4 separate regions of the Homo sapiens genome follow, and regions 1, 2 and 3 are each linked to region 4. The links are contacts of gene promoters, found by promoter capture Hi-C in blood cells and fetal thymus (Javierre and others, 2016). All regions are on one chromosome and are shown on one strand. The core of a region is centred on a gene start or on the middle of the fragment in contact, and the rest is flanking DNA. Distances in the headings are between cores, read along the strand shown.

Region 1 (4,614 bases), core at 1,040-3,539, 190 kb before region 4:
TGGTAGGACTTTCTCATTTCTAGGACTTTACTGTGTATCAATTTTAGTATTCAAACTAGCTTTATAGAGTAGCTAAAATAGTTCCTATATCAGAGAGTCTGAAGAATATGAAGGGCTGGAGAATTCATAGATAAGAGCTCACTGATAGGGAATCCTCTACATGCTGATGTAGAATATATTGTTCAGTGAAAGGAAAGGGCAGAAAAGTACAGTATCATACTTCTTGTGTCAGAAAGGAGGCGGATATTAGAATACAGACTCTGCTGATATTTGCACAAAGAAACTCTAAAAAAAACTAGAAGAAATAATAAAAGAAAATACCTATAGAAGCAGGTAGAAATGGGGTGGAAGAGGACGGGGTGAAAAATAAGGCTTCTCAGTATATGTCTTTTTATGTTGTATTCATTTTTGAACTATCTGGATATTTCATCTATAAAACTTTGGCCTTGCGTGCCACTGCAAGGGAGTAGCAGTGAAATGACTCTGATTTCTTGTTGCTCCATGTATCAAATTCACTCCTTAGTCTACTGTTTAGATGTTTCTACCTTGTGCCTTGGCATGATCTGTTTAACTGAAATGAACTATATCTATGTCCCTAAATCACTTTCAAACTTCAACTCAAAATATATCACTTCCTCCTCAATTGGCTATTTATTTCATTCTGCCTTTTAGCATAATGTATTTATGTTGTATATTTGTATATTGGTTCTACGTTGGTATTACTATAAATCCTAATATAGTTCATGAATGGTTTCCACTCCCACTTTGATTGTTTACACCCTTAATTATAAAAATTGTTTTTATAATTTCATGAATGGTTTCTACTCCCACTTGATTATTAACACCCTCAATAGTATCTGAATTATCTGAAGCATAACTTAAGAGTTATTTGATAATTTTTATTTGCTTTTGAGGATCTTAATATGTTAACTTTATTTGGATAATTTTAATCAACAAAATTTTCAATTAGGAAAGGTCTCACACAGCAAAGTTTTACTACGTTTCCGTTATCTTAAACTTCAAGATATTAAATAGGAAAACTAATAAGGAAAAAGTTTTTTTAAAAAAACAAAAAGGACAATAATTTAGTTTAAGGTAACTTTCCATCTAGTTAAGGTGAATATATGTGGATTTGCACACTAAAATAGTAAACATAACTTGACCACCTGACATGAATTTTGCATGGAGTACAATATGATTTGTATGCCAGTAACTAATTAATACAATAAGTAACAATTGTGTTTTTATCTTTGCTAATATATGTACGTTATGCAGAATTACTGCTGAATTTATCCATCAAATATGGTAAACAAAATAATCTGTTGGTTTTTTTCTATATTAAATATATATTCAAAAGTAAGACACTTTAAATTCTTTTAAGAAATGAAAGCCAGGCACAGTTGCTCACACCTGTAATCCCGCACTTTGGGAGGCTGAGACGGGCAGATTGCTTGAGCTCAGGAGTTTAAGACCAGCCTGCACAACATAGCAAAACCCCATCTCTATAAAAAAAAAATACGGAAAAATTAGCCAGGTGTGGTGACACATACCTGTGGTCTCAGCTACTCGGGAGACTGGGTTAGGAATGAGCCTGGGAAGTTGAGATTGCACCACTGTACTTCAGCCTGGTACTTCTGAACTGTACTTTTGACCTGTCTGAAAGAACATATCTTAAAATTGATCATAGAAAATAGAAACTTATAAGGTGAGTAGATCATTATGTATTTTAATGACTTAATATATTCTCATCTAATGTTTATTTTGAAACAGGCAAGAAAATTGGATGTATATTTTGAATATGAAGAAAAAATAATGAGCAAAACTACTCTGGATAAATCTCTTCTAGATATAATATCAGACCCTGATGGTATGTACCAAAAATTTGAGGTTAATGTAAGTTTCATATCTGACGAAAGCAGCATTTTCAATTGAGTAAACTTTGAATAGAATTGTTGTTTTTCTGACAGTCAATGCTAATATCAAGATAATTAAATGAGCTATTTTCTGGTAAAATTTTATAACTTAGCAGTTCCTACAGTGGAAAAATAATTTGCATTTCATTTCATTGAACTTTTATTTGATAGTATTTAGGCACATTTTATATTCACTTGTTTAAGGTGATATATGTAAAGCTTAATATCTGCTGGTTCCAGGAAGATTTGAAGGTATAACATTCAAAGCAAGTGTCTCTAAGTGATTCGCTTCCTAATTACTTTGGTCTACCCTCAATTTCCTGAAAAGATGTATCTAAAACTAAATTCTGTTTTACATGTTTAGGGAGTTTACTTTTAAAGGAACTCTATGGCCAATCACTTTAAATATTTGTATGTTAGATTTTCTTAAAATATAACTATTTGTACTTAGAAAATATGATCTATGGAGGCCAATATGTTAAGCAAAAGAAGCCAGGCGCAGAAAGACAAGTATCACATGTTCTCACTCATGTGGAAGCTTAAAAAGTAGATCTTATGATGATAGAGTTACCAGAGGCCAGGAAAGGGAGAGAGGTGGAGGGATGAAGGGAACAAAAAAATATAAACGTATTTTTTACCACTGAACTGTGCACTTAACAATGGTAAAGACTGGCCAGGCACAGTGGTTCATACCTGTAATCCCAGTACTTTGGGAGCTTGAGGCAGGAGGATTGCTTAAGCCCAGGAGTTTGAGACCAGCCTAGGCAATAAAGCAAGACCCCATATACACACAAAAAATGAAGAAAGTTAGCCAGGCAGGGTGGCATGCATCTGTAGTCCCAGCTACTTGGGAGACTGAGGTGGGAGGATCCGTTGAGCCTAGGAGTACGATGTTGCAGTAAGCTAAGATCGCACAACTGCACTCCAGCCTGGGTGGCAGAGCAAGACCTGGTCTCAAAAACAAACAAACAAAAAAAACCACAGGCAAAAATAGTAAAAAAAAAATTTAATGTAATCCAATTGTAGTTTTTAATTATAAAGATTGTGGGATCTACATAGAGTCTTAGTCTCTGAAATTCCCTAAACTTTAGAGACCTGTAGATCATTTCACAATAGTTTTGAATTCAAATCTCAGCTTTTTCCAAAACAAATGGAAAGCCTAGGACCCATTTTGCATATAAGCTATTTAAGCTGCATAATTATGGTTTTTGAGTTATAGTTTTGGTATGAATTTTAGACTATAATCCAAATTAGAAAATAATTTAAAAGTCCAAACTGTTTTATAATTAAAGATTCTATTTATACAAACATCTGAGAAGCCATAAGTATTGCTCACACTTTTAGAAAGCTAGATTTGTGGTGAGAACATAGCATTTTAAAGGTATATGCATTTTACAGTGAAAGAAATTTAAAAAGTTATATAAGTCTATCATTTCTGAGCTATTCCTTGTTATTTACAGTAACTTTCGAGTAAAGTTGAAACAAAAAAAACATGTTGACAGAAAGGCAATCAGTCCTGCTTTTTCCTTTCCCCTTTCTCAAACGATTTATCCCTAAAGATATTTAAGTAGGATAGAGCAAGGTAGGCATTCTTGCAAAGTAGCAGTCTGGTGCCACTTCGGTCCAGAATAAGATGTTGGAACCTGAGCAAGATGACTAAGGGCATCCACTCATGGAATAGAGGGAGGATTAGTAATCTGGCATGTCAAAGTTCAGGAAAGGAAAGCAGAGTGTCCACATGTGGGAGTAGTCTAGCAAGGTGTGTGAGAACCATAACAGATTGAGGAGGGTGACCCCTGCACAGGAACAAACCAGCTTGGGCCTAGGTGAGGTGAGACGTATGTCTAGGTATGTGGATGGGTCCACTGCAGGAAATCAGAGCTCAAGTGAAGTAAGAAGGGCATCCATGCAGCAAGCCCATGGAAGCAGAGATGGGATATTTGTTATATACAGGGGACTGGCTAAATAAATATATTGGATAATATAAAGAAAGCCCAATTTCCCATTGTCAGAGGAGGAATTTATAAATATAGAAAGGGAAAAAATTAGAATGAACCCTGTAGTGTTGGATTGGAATTAGAGGTGTTGGTGTGAACTTAGTGTTTTCGCTATATATCTGTTCAGATACAGAAATAAATATAGATTGTATGTTGGGGGGGGCGGTGTATACTCATGTATTCCGTAACTCTGCCAACTGAAAGGGCCTGGGAGCAGCAATGCCCAACTAGTAAAGATGCTGCCTTATAAATACAGTTTCCACTAGGACTCCTTGGAGAGGTAGCTGATTCCAGAGGTGGGGCAGGGAGCAAAAGTACAAAATGAGTCTGGAACATTTTTGTTGTGTCAGAAGGCAAGGAAGCTACTCCAAAAATGATGGAACTTGTCAAAAGAACCCAGAAGTCAGCTTGAATAGGCTCCAGATGATGACAATTTGAGCATCAAAATAAATAATAACAGATTATAACCCACTGATAAAAGAGGATGCCAAGAGTCCATGTGGACATAATAAATGAATAAATTGAAATTTCATAGGATATTTATGCAGTTTCAGAATACCTCCCCACAAAATACTTATTAACTGTAAGAAAAAGTAACGGTGCGGTGGAGAAGCCTGATAAATACCTTATTAGGTAACCACAGTGAACGTCGTCAGTAGAGAGACATAAAATAGTGGGAAAGTACTAAGCAGATTGTGGAGAGG
Region 2 (4,194 bases), core at 1,062-3,561, 150 kb before region 4:
GCACCACCCTTCCAGCTACCTCCCCATGTTCAGCAACCCAGAAGCTCTTGAAACTCTGTACTTGTGGGTTTTTAATGGAGACTTCATTAACAGGCAGGACTGATTAAATCACTGGCCATTGCTCATCAACTCAACTTTCAGTCCCTCTTCTTTTTATTTATTTATTTATTTATTATTATTATACTTTAAGTTTTAGGGTACATGTGCACATTGTGCAGGTTAGTTACATATGTATACATGTGCCACGCTGGTGCGCTGCACCCACTAACTCGTCATCTAGCATTAGGTATATCTCCCAATGCTATCCCTCCCCCCTCCCCCCACCCCACAACAGTCCCCAGAGTGTGATGTTCCCCTTCCTGTGTCCATGTGTTCTCTTCTATCCTTGGAGATCAAAGGATAGGACTGAAAGTTCCAACCCTCTAATCACATGGTGAGTTCCCCTAGCAACCAGCCTCCGTCCTGTGGCTATCAAGGAGCCCCCAGCTATCAGGCATCTCATAACCTTACAAAAAGACATTACTTTGGCTATTACAAGGGTTTCTGCACCTGTGTGCCAGGAATTGGGAACAAAGACCAAATCTATATGTGTTATTACAAATCACAGTATCACACTGTATAACCCAGCAATTCTATTGCTAGATATCTTCTCAAAAGAACTGAAAATGACTGAACAAATCTTGTACACCAACGTATTATGCACAATAGCCAAAAGGTGGAAACAACCCAAATATCCATCATTGAATAAATAAATGTGATATATTCATTCAATGGAATATTTTTCAGCCATAAAAGAGAGTGAAGTACTGATACACGCTACAACATAGTTGAATCTTGAAAGCATTACGCGGAGTGAAAGAAACTAGACATAAAAGCTACATATTGTATTACTCCCTTTATATGAAATGTCCAGAACAGGCAAATGCATAAAGACAGGAAGCAGATTTGTGGTTGCAGGGGTTAGGGGAATAGAGGGTGGGGAGTGACTGCTTAATGGGTACGATGTTTCATTTGGGGTGATGAAAAAGTTTTGGAATTAGATAGTGGTGATGGTTACACATTGTGAATATATGTAATACACTGAATTGTAAACTTTAAAATACATTTTATGTGTATTTTACATCAATAACTTTATAATTATACTGGGAGATTCTTACATGGCATTCACAAACAGGAAAAAATAAAGATGTAAAATATTTGAAAGTACAATTAACAAACGTTGCTAATTGACTACAGTGAACCTGTACTCAACAATTACAGAACATATAATCTTCTGAAGCAGGTATGGAATATTTTTAAAATCTGATCTTACCATGAAGCAAGCCAAATGGCTGAAATCATTTTGAGCATATCTGAATCACAATGTAAGTTAGAAATCAATAACAGACTTTCAATTCAAAAGCCCACACTGGGCTTAGTTGAGACACAGTTCTAATTAACCCAATAAGTTATAAATTAGGAAATATTTTAAAATGAATAAGTTGAACAACCACAAAAATACTACATATTAAAACGTGTTGATACAACTACAGAATTTTAAGGCCCATTTAGAGTTCAAAAACAAATTATAAAAATTAAGGTTAAAATTGATAAACTAAGCATCCATCACAAGAAGTTAGAAAAATAATAAAATCAACAAGAAAAAGGTAGTAAAATGAAATAACAAAGCAGAAATTAATGAGTCAGAATCCAACGTGATAGAGAATGTTAAGGACTAAATTGTGTTACCACCCCCACCCCCTGGCATATTCACATGCTGAAGCTTTAATCTCCAATGTGACTACATTTACTTACAGATAGGGCTTTAGGTGGTAATTAAGGTTAAGTGAGGTCATAAAGATGAGGCGCTAATCCAATAGGACTGGTGTCCTTCTAAGAGGAGAAAGAGACACCAGACACCTCTCCCTCTCTCCACATGTGCACAGAAGAAAGGCTGCATGAGGACCCAGCAAGAAGGTGGATATCTACAAGCCACCAAGAGACTTCACTGGGAACCAGCCCTGAGAGCACCTTGATCTTAGACTTCCAGCCTCTGAACTGTGAGAAAATAAATGTCTGTTCTTTTAGCAACCGAGTCTACAGTATCTTGTCATGGCAGCCCAAGCTGATATACAGAAGAACAAACTTCTGGCAAAACAGATGGAAGAAAAAAAAAAAAAAAGAAAATGAAAAGACACAAAACTCCAATACTAGGAATGAAAAAAGGGACATTACTACTCATCTTGTAGACATCATATAAGTAAAATGAAACTACTTCATATTAAAAAATGAAACCACCACTTTCTTCCAAGATGGAGTCATATTTGCCAGGTTTAACCTCCCATCAGAAACAACTTTAAAACTGGACAGAATACACGCAGCAAAAGTTCTTAACACATTGGACATCAACAACAAGGACTGTGATCCCTGAGAGACAGGAAAAAAATGCGAGCGTCCTTAGATTGCCTCGGCTTATTGCCTGGAGAAAGGTTCTGGACAGCGGTGCCAGAAGGGCGAACCCAGGTGGAGACCCCTTGTCTCCTCTAGTTGAGGCGGCAGTTCTGGGAGTCCAAGGTGACCAAGAGGGCTATAGTTTTCAAGATGGAGTACCAGAAAGGAGAGCGCTGCATAGAGAACTCAAGCTCAGCAGAGGGTTCTCCTCTGTTACAGCTCGACATGTGCAAGTGAAGAAGCTACCTGAGGCTGGGAGAAGAACCACCCAAAAGCATTAGAAGGAATAGTCCTCAGACGGACCAGGAACCAACCAGAATATAAAAATGCATAATTCCCAGAGAATCGCATTTAAAAACTCACAAATATTTTGCCTTAGTAGCGAGGAAAAAATAACCTTAGTCTAAGCACTGTTCTGGTCCTGCCTAACAAAGCTTGAAAGCAATGCCCAAAAGCATCAAACTGTTTCCAAGTAACTGAACTATATCCCAGACTAAATCTCAAGAATAACTATAGCAATACAAAAATATCCAGCACCCAACAAGGTAAAATTTGCATTTAAAATCTAATCAAAACTTACCAGGAATGCAAAGCAACAGGCAAACACAAAACATAATGAGGATTAAAAAATCAATTTAAACTTAACCAAAAACATCACAGATGCTATAATTAGTAGATGAGGATAGTAAAGTATTTATTATAGCTATTTCATATGTTCAAGAAGTTAGGGGAAGACTGACCTTTTTGAGTAGAGGCATGAAACATACAACAAAGACCCAAATCAAACTTCTAAAGACAAAACCTACAATATCTGTATTAGTCTTCTATTGGTGCTATAACAAATTATCACAAATGTAGTGGCTTAAAATACCACAAATATATTACCTTACAGTTCTAGGGGTAAGAAGCCCAAAATGGTTCTCACTGGGCCAAAATCCAGAAAGGGTGGCATTTTGCATTCCTGGGAAGTATTGATTAGATTGATTTTAAATGCAAATTGTACCTGTTGGGTGCTGGCTATTTTCGTATTCCCACAGTTATTCTCAAGCTTTGGTCTGGGATGTAGTTAAGTTACTTGGAAACAGTTTGATGCTTGTCTTCTCCATGTTGTGAGCCAGTGATGGCCAGTCAAGTCTTTCTCACAATGATATTTGTTTGGTCGTGTCCCCACCCAAATCTCATCTTGAATTGTAGCTCCCATAATGCCCACATGTCATGGAAGTTACCCGGTGGAAGGTAACTGAATCATGGGAGTGGGTTTTTCCCATGCTATTCCCTTGGTAGTGAATAAGCCTCATGAGATCTGATAGTTTTACAAACAGGAGTCCCCCTGCACAAGCTCTCTTGCCTGCCACCATGTAAGACATGCCTTTGTTCTTCCTTTGCCTTCCACCATGATTGTGAGGCCTCCCCAGCCATGCGGAACTGTGAGTCCATTAAACTTCTTTCGTTTATAAATTACCTAGTCTTGGGTATATCTTTATTAGCGGCACGAGAATGGACTAATACACACAGGTAGCATTCTGACAGCGATTTTTCTGCCTGTCTCTTCTACATTTAAAGGATCCACATGGTTACACTGGGTCCACCTAAATAATCCACGATAATGTCTTTATAACACTCCGCCCCTAAAACAGCAGCATACACACACTTTTCAAGTTCTTTCAGAACATTTACTAAAGTATACCATATTCTGAACCTTTAAAAAGGTCTCAATAAATTTTAAATTTACTTAAGTTTTAAAATAAATCAATAACAGAAATG
Region 3 (4,225 bases), core at 1,513-4,012, 210 kb before region 4:
TTAGAAAATTTATTGGTTAATATTTAATTTTTTGATACTTGCAGTTCTTTGCCAGAACTCCTTGAGAAAAAAAGACTTATTGATCTCCATACAAATGTTGCCACTGCTGTTTTAGAACATATAAAGGTAAATTTAACTTTTTCCCCCCCACAATATGACTTGCATTTACATAGGGTTTTATACTTTGTAAGATGCTTTAGTATTCATTATCTTATTGAGTCCCCACTGTAACATGAAGTATAATTATGGAAGACAGCAGTATTATAGTTATTTTTTTGCAAATAAAGTAACCTAGGAATCCAGAAAGATAAGTGATTTCCAAGGTCACATGTTTAGTAAATAGAAGTGGGAATCTATGATATTTCTATTATATTGCACTGCCTCAATATCACTGCTGTACATACTACTGTATTAATAGTAGACTTGTATCTCAGCATCAGTAATAGATTTGGAAATCTCTTTTACCAGAGTTCTATCTAAAATATCCATTAATAACATCACTTTTATTTATGTGACTTTGTTCTGAACTTTTTAAATTTAGAGAATCTGTTAACATTGAAGCTTCTTACTGTGTATCATTGAACTGTGATTTTGAAACAAGTATGTTGGGAGTTCTATATATTGTTATAGTTCTTTTTCTCATTACCGTGTTCATGATTGCCCCATTGTCAGCTTACTTAATCAGTCCTTCAGTATTCTGCTATTATTTGTTCTCCACACTTGGAGCTGAATTTCTGTGGCAGATTGACCATATGCTAAAACTTGGCTAATATTGACCCCTCCTTTCCATTTTATATGATGCATTTGAAACTGTTTAAAAAGCTGAATATAATTGCTGGCTGTCAGAGAAGTTGATAACACCTGGGATTTATTGAGAAGGTACTTAAAGGTATTATTTAAATAATTTTAAAAGCCACAAAAGCATTAGAAAGGCACTAACATAGATAATGGGCAGCATGCAGTTTAAACCTGCATAATTACTATTACGCCAACAACCTAATTTTTTTCTTTGTTTCACATCTTGGTACTTGATATTTTTCAGGTTCATACAGGAATAGAAACAGAACTGCAGTCTGTAGGTGATTCTGCTGATGTTTTCACTTCTATATGTAGTGTCTCTGTGAAATGGCAAAAGGCTGTTCAGATCTGTTTACCTGAGGTCATTGTCTCTTGTGGAGGTGATACAGATACAGATATAGATGTATAGATATATCACCAGGTGAAATACAACAGAGAGCTATATTGAGAATTTCCTTCAGGTCGGAGACTAGAACTTATAGTTTGAGAAAATTTTGGTTAATTTACTTATTCAATCATGTTTATTGAGTGGCTCTATGTATATTGTACTAGGCCCTGAAGATACTGTAGTAAACAAGACAGACAAGTTCTCTGTTCTCTTGAAGCTTATATTGTAGTGACAGTAAACAGAGTAAGCAAATTAGAAAACAAGTTAACTTCAGGCATTTTAGTGACATGAGAACAACAAAAACAGCAGGGTGATGTGAGGCAATGGGATATGAGAATGGCTGAGAGGCCTACTCTGGAGTAAGTCTGCAAGTGAAATCACCTTTGATGAGGTGATGTTTGAGTTGAGACAGGAATCACAGAAAGGAGCCAATTAGTGAAGATCTCAGGGCCAACCATGCCAGGCAGAGGGAATAAGAAGTGCAAAGGCCCTACGACAAACAAATTCGGTATGTTTGAGAACCTAGAAAAAGACAAATTGTGCTTTATTGAGGAGGGAAAGAGTGATGGTAGAATATGGAATCAAAAAAAGTAGAAATTTAAGTATGATAACTCATTAGAGGTTAATGACATGATCTGATTTATGTTTTAAAATAAAGAAGACTGTGGAGGATAAGGGACAATGAGTTCTGGAAATAAAAGTGGAACTGGAAGACAACTATTATAGATGTGTAGGTGAAAAATGATTTATAAGACATAATTTACTTACGAAATTTTTATCGTGCTTATTATAATTTTACACTAATGATTTTAGGTGAGTTTTTCAGATCAGTTTTTGCTAACAGAGGCCATCTGTCTGAGATAGTTTAATATGCTACCATGCCCAACCTAAACAATTCTACTTGAAGACCTCTTGGTCTTATAAAAGAAAGTGTTCCCTTTAGGGTTGCTAGTTCTCTGGCAGAGCATCTTATGCCAAGAAACTAATCTGTCATTCAAGATATTGAGTGATTTTATGTAAAAGATAGATTTTATTTATTCACTTATTTATTTATTTTGACAGGGTCTCTCCCTGTCACCCAGGCTGGAGTACAGTGGCACAATCATAGCTCAATATAGCCTTAACCTCCTGGGCTCAAGGATCCTCCTGCCTTGCCTCCCTAGTAACTAAGACTATTGGTGCATTCCACCACACCCAGTCAAAAAAATAGATATTATTGAATCATTATCTTGCTAATGATCCTTTTTCATCATAAGATCTGATTTAAACAAAGTGTGCTATTGAGGACATTCACTTTACAGAGGGAAAATAATGTCATCTGTAGAACACACTACTCCTAGTTGGGTCATTCTAAGAAGCCCAATTAAAAATCAGAAGTTTTTTTTATATCCTAGATAAAGAAGCATATTTATTTTAAATATTTTAAGTTCTTCCTTGTCAAAAGTAGCAGATAAACTGTATTGTTCTCATTATTTCTCATTATTCCTAGTTACAGAATTTCTTATAACTTTTCATAACTCTTAAATTTCCATCCTTATAAGCGGCATGTTTATTTATACCATTACTATGTTAAGCCACCTACTGCTGGCTGTGTTAATGTTAATTAAAGAAATATTTTGCTCCGTAATCTCTTCTCTTTTCACCAGAATTTCTTGACCATCTGAGCTTTACTTACTTGTGAACATACATTCACCTAAGCACCTTTTTTTTTTTTTTTTTTTTTTTTTTTTTTTGAGACAGAGTCTCACTCTGTCACCAGGCCGGAGTGCAGTGGCACACTCTCAGCTCACTGCAACCTCCACCTCCTGGGTTCAAGCGATTCTTCTGCCTCAGCCTCCTGAGTAGCTGAGACTACAGGCACGGACCACCATGCCCAGCTAATTTATGTATTTTTAGTAGAGACAGGATTTCACCATGTTGGGCAGGATGGTCACCATCTCTTGACCTCATGATCCACCCGCCTCGGCCCCGCGAAGTGCTGGGATTACAGGCGTGAGCCACCGCGCCTGGCCGTAAATATTTTTTACTAGCTAGAAGATTGTGTCATGTAGAGGTCTCAGCATTTCTCTTAGTATTTGACTGTATTAGTTTTACATATTTCTTCTTTTGTTTAGAGTATAACCGCTTCTTACATTTCCTTCAGTCGTTTTCTAAAGAAGAAATTAACCTTTTTAGAAATCCTGGCAGTTACCCCGCAATTGATGTTTTGGTGGAAAATTAGAGCACACCAGTTTGTCATAACTTTAAGAAACATTTTCACTTTATTGATATTCTGAGGATTTTAGTGATTTGGGTAATTTGGGTCTAATAAAGAGTAAATTGTTGAATACTCATTTGTTTTGAGTCATCTATATTTTTAAACCCTTTCTTTAGTTGTTTTTTCATCCCTAATACAAATGCAACTTTCCCACTTGCTGGTTGTTAGAGAATGGCTTCTGGGATTACTTACATAATTTGTAGACAGCCTGTTTTAATTATTCTTAGCTCACCTATGTAGCAAACCTGAATAAAGTACTCTTTAGCTCCAGATACCTAAAGAAAAGAAGCCTACTTGTAAAGCATAGTTGATGAGATGAGAGAGAGAAATGGTATCATGGGTTCTTTCCCCCAGTGTTCCCACCTTAGAGGAAAAGCACCCACATCTGAATGCTCCAACCAACCGGATATAGCTGGTAAAAAATAAGCTATCAATAAACTTTGTGAGGCAAGGCTTAATTGTTACTGGATCCTCATTTTTGTTTTACTTGTTCTTATAGACAGTCTTATAGGGACTGAATTAGATCTAAAGACATCATCTGATTAGGTGATGATGTCTGTACTCTAAAGAAGGCTTAACCCTTGTTGGCAATGCTAGCTTTTCACTAGTGTTCCTTCTGAGGACTGACTTTTTATTTTTATTTTTTGGTTCAACTGCCTTATATTTTTATGGGGAAGATAAGCTTTCAAAATAAAGTGGAAACTCTCTTAACTGATCTCCACTTAGTCACCACACCAAATTAACTGATGCCCTCTGTAAACCACAGTGGCCAGTAGCCACAT
Region 4 (4,049 bases), core at 606-3,105:
GATTAAAGTTCAGGAGGCTGGACTACACCAATATTGATTCGTGAAAATTATCCCTTAGTGATATTGAAAGTTGCAAAAGCCAGAAAATAGGGTAGGATTTTAGGGGTAGATCACAACAGTTTTTATTTATTTTCAGGGTCTTGCTCTGTCACCCAGGCTGGAGTACAGTGGTGTGATTATTTTTTTTTTTAACTGTAATTATATGCTGGGCTTGAGCTAAACAATCTGAACTAGAATGTAGAACTGAAAAGAAGTGAGGAAAACTGAGGGGGAGGAAAAAAATATTTTGACTTTTTTTTTTTTTAACCAGGGAGTGAGAGTCAGGAAAAGGAGACTGGAACAATTGGACATTGTTCCAAGTAGCTTTTACATCATCTAAACCTGCTGCATATCTTAGGTATTTACCACTCTGAGCACTGTATACCACTAGAAGGGGAATGAAACCTTAGATCTGTAGAGGAAAACTATTACAGAAACTCCAAAAGTTATAGAAAATTGCACCCAGCATTAGATAGATGGTACTCTACACTAAGAATCTGCTAAATGAGGCCAGGTGTGGTGGCTTATGCCTGTAATCCCAGCACTTTGGGAGGCCGAGGCAGATGGATCGCTTGAGCCCTGGAGTTCGAGATGAGACCAGCCTGAACAACATGGTGAAACCCCATCTCTACAAAGAAATTTAAAAATTAGCTGGGCTTAGTGGCATGCGCTTGTAGTCCCAGCTATTTGAGGATGGGGGTGCTGAGGAGGATAGTTTGAGCCCAGGAAGTTGAGGCTGCAGTGAGCCTTGATTGTACCACTGCACTCCAGCATGGGCAAAAGAGCCAGACCCTGTCTGAGAAAAAAAAAAAAAAAAGATTAAATGAAAACTTCTACAATTGGGATTGGGGTGAATCCAACTAATGTATTATTACCCTAAATGTACAGTTGTACTAAAAGCCTTCTAGTAACTAAAGTGAATGGAAATAGAATACCTCAATGAAACTGGAAGAAATTACTCCAGTTTCATAAGATCCCTCTTGGGCAGTACTTTTTAGTCACTAGTTTTGCTTTGGGATTATAGGCTGACATTTTCTGATTATTAGACAGTTTGCCAATATAAAGATTGAAATGGAAGAGGATTTTTCATTATCAGAGGACTAGTCACCATTCCTCAAACAATGCAACCTTTGAACACTTTTGCTATTTACTTATCCCATCTCTTGTGCCATTCTTCCTTGCTTTAATGGATTGTGACTCTGACTCCAGTATACTGTTTGATGCAGGCCAACCTCATACGGAAAATTTTCACCATCCGCATTTACTGTAGGATTTTAAAAAAGATACTGTGGATCAGGTTAAAAGTCTTCTTCTATTCCTAGTTTATAGGTGTGTTCTGTCATTAATGGATATTGAACTTTATCAAATTATTTCTTATCAGTGATGACTTACCTGTTAATGTGGCGAATTACAGATATAGCAGAGTTTCTGGTTTGGACCACTCTTTTGCCACTCTCGTCACAATGACTGTGAAAACTTAATTTGTTCAGGGGATTTAATTGTCCAGAAATTAGTAAGCAGTTTTCGCTGCAACTATGTAACAGTGTATGGAAAACATATAGACATAATTCCATATATTAGCTAGACCTGATTTTCAATTCACTTTAAAATGTTTTCATTGTAGGAATCACTATCTTCTCTGTTGGTGTGGCTTGGGCACCTCTGGATGACCTGAAAGATATGGCTTCTAAACCGAAGGAGTCTCATGCTTTCTTCACAAGAGAGTTCACAGGATTAGAACCAATTGTTTCTGATGTCATCAGAGGCATTTGTAGAGATTTCTTAGAATCCCAGCAATAATGGTAACATTTTGACAACTGAAAGAAAAAGTACAAGGGGATCCAGTGTGTAAATTGTATTCTCATAATACTGAAATGCTTTAGCATACTAGAATCAGATACAAAACTATTAAGTATGTCAACAGCCATTTAGGCAAATAAGCACTCCTTTAAAGCCGCTGCCTTCTGGTTACAATTTACAGTGTACTTTGTTAAAAACACTGCTGAGGCTTCATAATCATGGCTCTTAGAAACTCAGGAAAGAGGAGATAATGTGGATTAAAACCTTAAGAGTTCTAACCATGCCTACTAAATGTACAGATATGCAAATTCCATAGCTCAATAAAAGAATCTGATACTTAGACCAAAAGCAACATTCGTTCTCTAACCATTCTGTATTGATTATATAAGCAAAATGAAAAGAGAAACTTAAATGAACACAGCTCTTTAACATGGTTCAGGTACACATATTTTGACCCAAGTGGATATTTTCTTAAAACCAATCAATAATAGCTAGCTATTACTGCAGACTATAAAATCTGGATATAGAAAGGAGACCTGTATCAAACTGCTTTTGTAGTGTGTTTTCATAACAACTTATGACTAAAAATATCACACTGAATAAGAGAGCAGGATTGCCAGGTATTTTTCTATTTCTCTCCTTAATTTTATATGTATATAGATATATTTGGCTTATATTCTAAGTCACCTAAGTACTTAAAAGTTAAGTTGGTAAAGTATTTACTGACTGCTTATAAACATTTAAAGACAAAGACATTTCAAATAACTGCAGAAAAAATATTGTAGTTTGAATATTTAAGCAATAAAACTGCTAGTGAGTTATTGTAAGCTGGCTTACTTTTATTACTGCTAGTGTCTCCCCTGAGGATATGGTAAAAATTCATGTGGAAAGACCAATCTGAATTGTTTTTTAAATCATGTAATAATACCAAGAATATTTTTTCTTTGATTCAATTATTTATTGAGGCCAAGCACAGTGGCTCATGCCTGTAATCCCAGCACTTTGGGAGGCTGAAGCAGGAGGACTGCTTGAGGCCAAGAATTCAAGACCAGCCTGGGCAACATAGTGAGAACCCCCTCTACAAAAAAGAAAAAAAAATTAGCCGGGTGGGATGGTGCATGTCTGTAGTCTGAGCTACTTGGGAGGCTGAGGTGGGAGGACTGCTTGAGCCGAGGAGGTCAAGGCTACAGTGAGCCATGATCACACCACTGCACTCCAGCTTGGGTGACAGAGCAAGACCCTATCTCCAAAATAAAAAAAAAAATAAAAAGACACAAGTTTATCGAATACCTACTGTCCTAGGCATTATACACAGCCACTACCTGATTAAACAGTATAAGATATTTTTGAGTACTTGCTTCACCAGAAATGTTTTGTAATTGACATCATTTTTTACTTAAAAATGCTTGTGAAGTTGGTTCCTATGAAAGGAGAACATCAGGACTCCCTTAATGTGACTTAGATGATTCGCTTACCAAGGCCTCTCCCAAAAGACAGAGGTGCTCTATCATCCCACCTTGTCTGTCTTTTCTAAAGATAGGTCCTATCTCCTCCTCTCATCCACCTAAGCCCCCTGAAATGTGTTAACTGGTTAGAATAATATACTCCAGTAAATCTTCTGAGTCTTACAATTTTATACCCTGCATAAGAGGAATAAAAGGACTACATGCAGGGAGAAACAAACTGGAATTGACTTTTTCACTACATAAAAATTTGAATTTGAAAATAGAGTTTGAGAAGACAACCTCCCCTTTTATAAAATGCTTCAAACATGACTGAATCATGTAACAGGGATAATTTTAATTAAACATCATAAAAACTGGGTTTAGCATAGTATGATTTTTCCCCAGTAAGTAGACCAAAAACTCTCAGCTAGGAGTACAACCCCTTGGAAAATTAAGCTCTAATGAAAACCCAGCTACCACTCATTAGCCCTTTTAAGAAAGTGGTTTTTTCTTTAATTTTATAAAGGACCAAGTTTTGAGTCACCTGAAGTAACCAGGGAATAGCAGCAAGACAGCAGAAATCAGAACTGTAGGTTACTATCAATAATTATGTAAGTAAACATAATCAGGATAAAGGTTATTTACAGGAGACAGAGTAAAAAGGAAATACGTATTACAATCCAACTTAAGCAAACATGCTTAGATTTCAAATATGCTGGCCCATTTATAACTTAATGCATTAAATGCAATGTTAGTCTTCAACAG

Evidence for each region. The method cuts DNA at HindIII sites, captures the fragments that hold promoters and counts their contacts. A CHiCAGO score of 5 or more calls a contact.
Region 1: a contact is called between a fragment that was not itself captured here and the fragment with the promoter of COCH-AS1 in region 4, in 1 of 17 cell types (M1 macrophages). The highest score is 8.1, in M1 macrophages.
Region 2: a contact is called between a fragment that was not itself captured here and the fragment with the promoter of COCH-AS1 in region 4, in 2 of 17 cell types (M1 macrophages and M2 macrophages). The highest score is 5.6, in M1 macrophages.
Region 3: a contact is called between a fragment that was not itself captured here and the fragment with the promoter of COCH-AS1 in region 4, in 2 of 17 cell types (megakaryocytes and M1 macrophages). The highest score is 6.7, in megakaryocytes.

What each region holds. Positions count from the first base shown.
Region 1 is chr14:30,693,003-30,697,616 of GRCh38, forward strand. It overlaps SCFD1 (sec1 family domain containing 1), which reads left to right. Exons shown (of 25, transcript NM_016106.4): 15 at 1,771-1,867. Among named protein-coding and RNA genes, the nearest start is that of SCFD1, 73 kb to the left of the region's middle. RefSeq lists an enhancer at 1-102. The HindIII fragment of the contact is 319 bases long and covers 2,131-2,449 here.
Region 2 is chr14:30,739,258-30,743,451 of GRCh38, forward strand. No RefSeq gene overlaps it. Among named protein-coding and RNA genes, the nearest start is that of SCFD1, 120 kb to the left of the region's middle. The HindIII fragment of the contact is 1,102 bases long and covers 1,761-2,862 here.
Region 3 is chr14:30,674,940-30,679,164 of GRCh38, forward strand. SCFD1 (sec1 family domain containing 1) reads left to right here. Exons shown (of 25, transcript NM_016106.4): 14 at 45-126. Among named protein-coding and RNA genes, the nearest start is that of SCFD1, 55 kb to the left of the region's middle. RefSeq lists an enhancer at 1-497. The HindIII fragment of the contact is 2,722 bases long and covers 1,402-4,123 here.
Region 4 is chr14:30,887,953-30,892,001 of GRCh38, forward strand. COCH-AS1 (COCH antisense RNA 1) reads right to left here and starts at 1,856. Exons shown (of 5, transcript NR_038356.1): 1 at 1,432-1,856; 2 at 1,191-1,303. COCH (cochlin) reads left to right here. Exons shown (of 12, transcript NM_004086.3): 12 at 1,664-2,666. The coding sequence ends at 1,839. The HindIII fragment of the contact is 10,353 bases long and covers 1-4,049 here.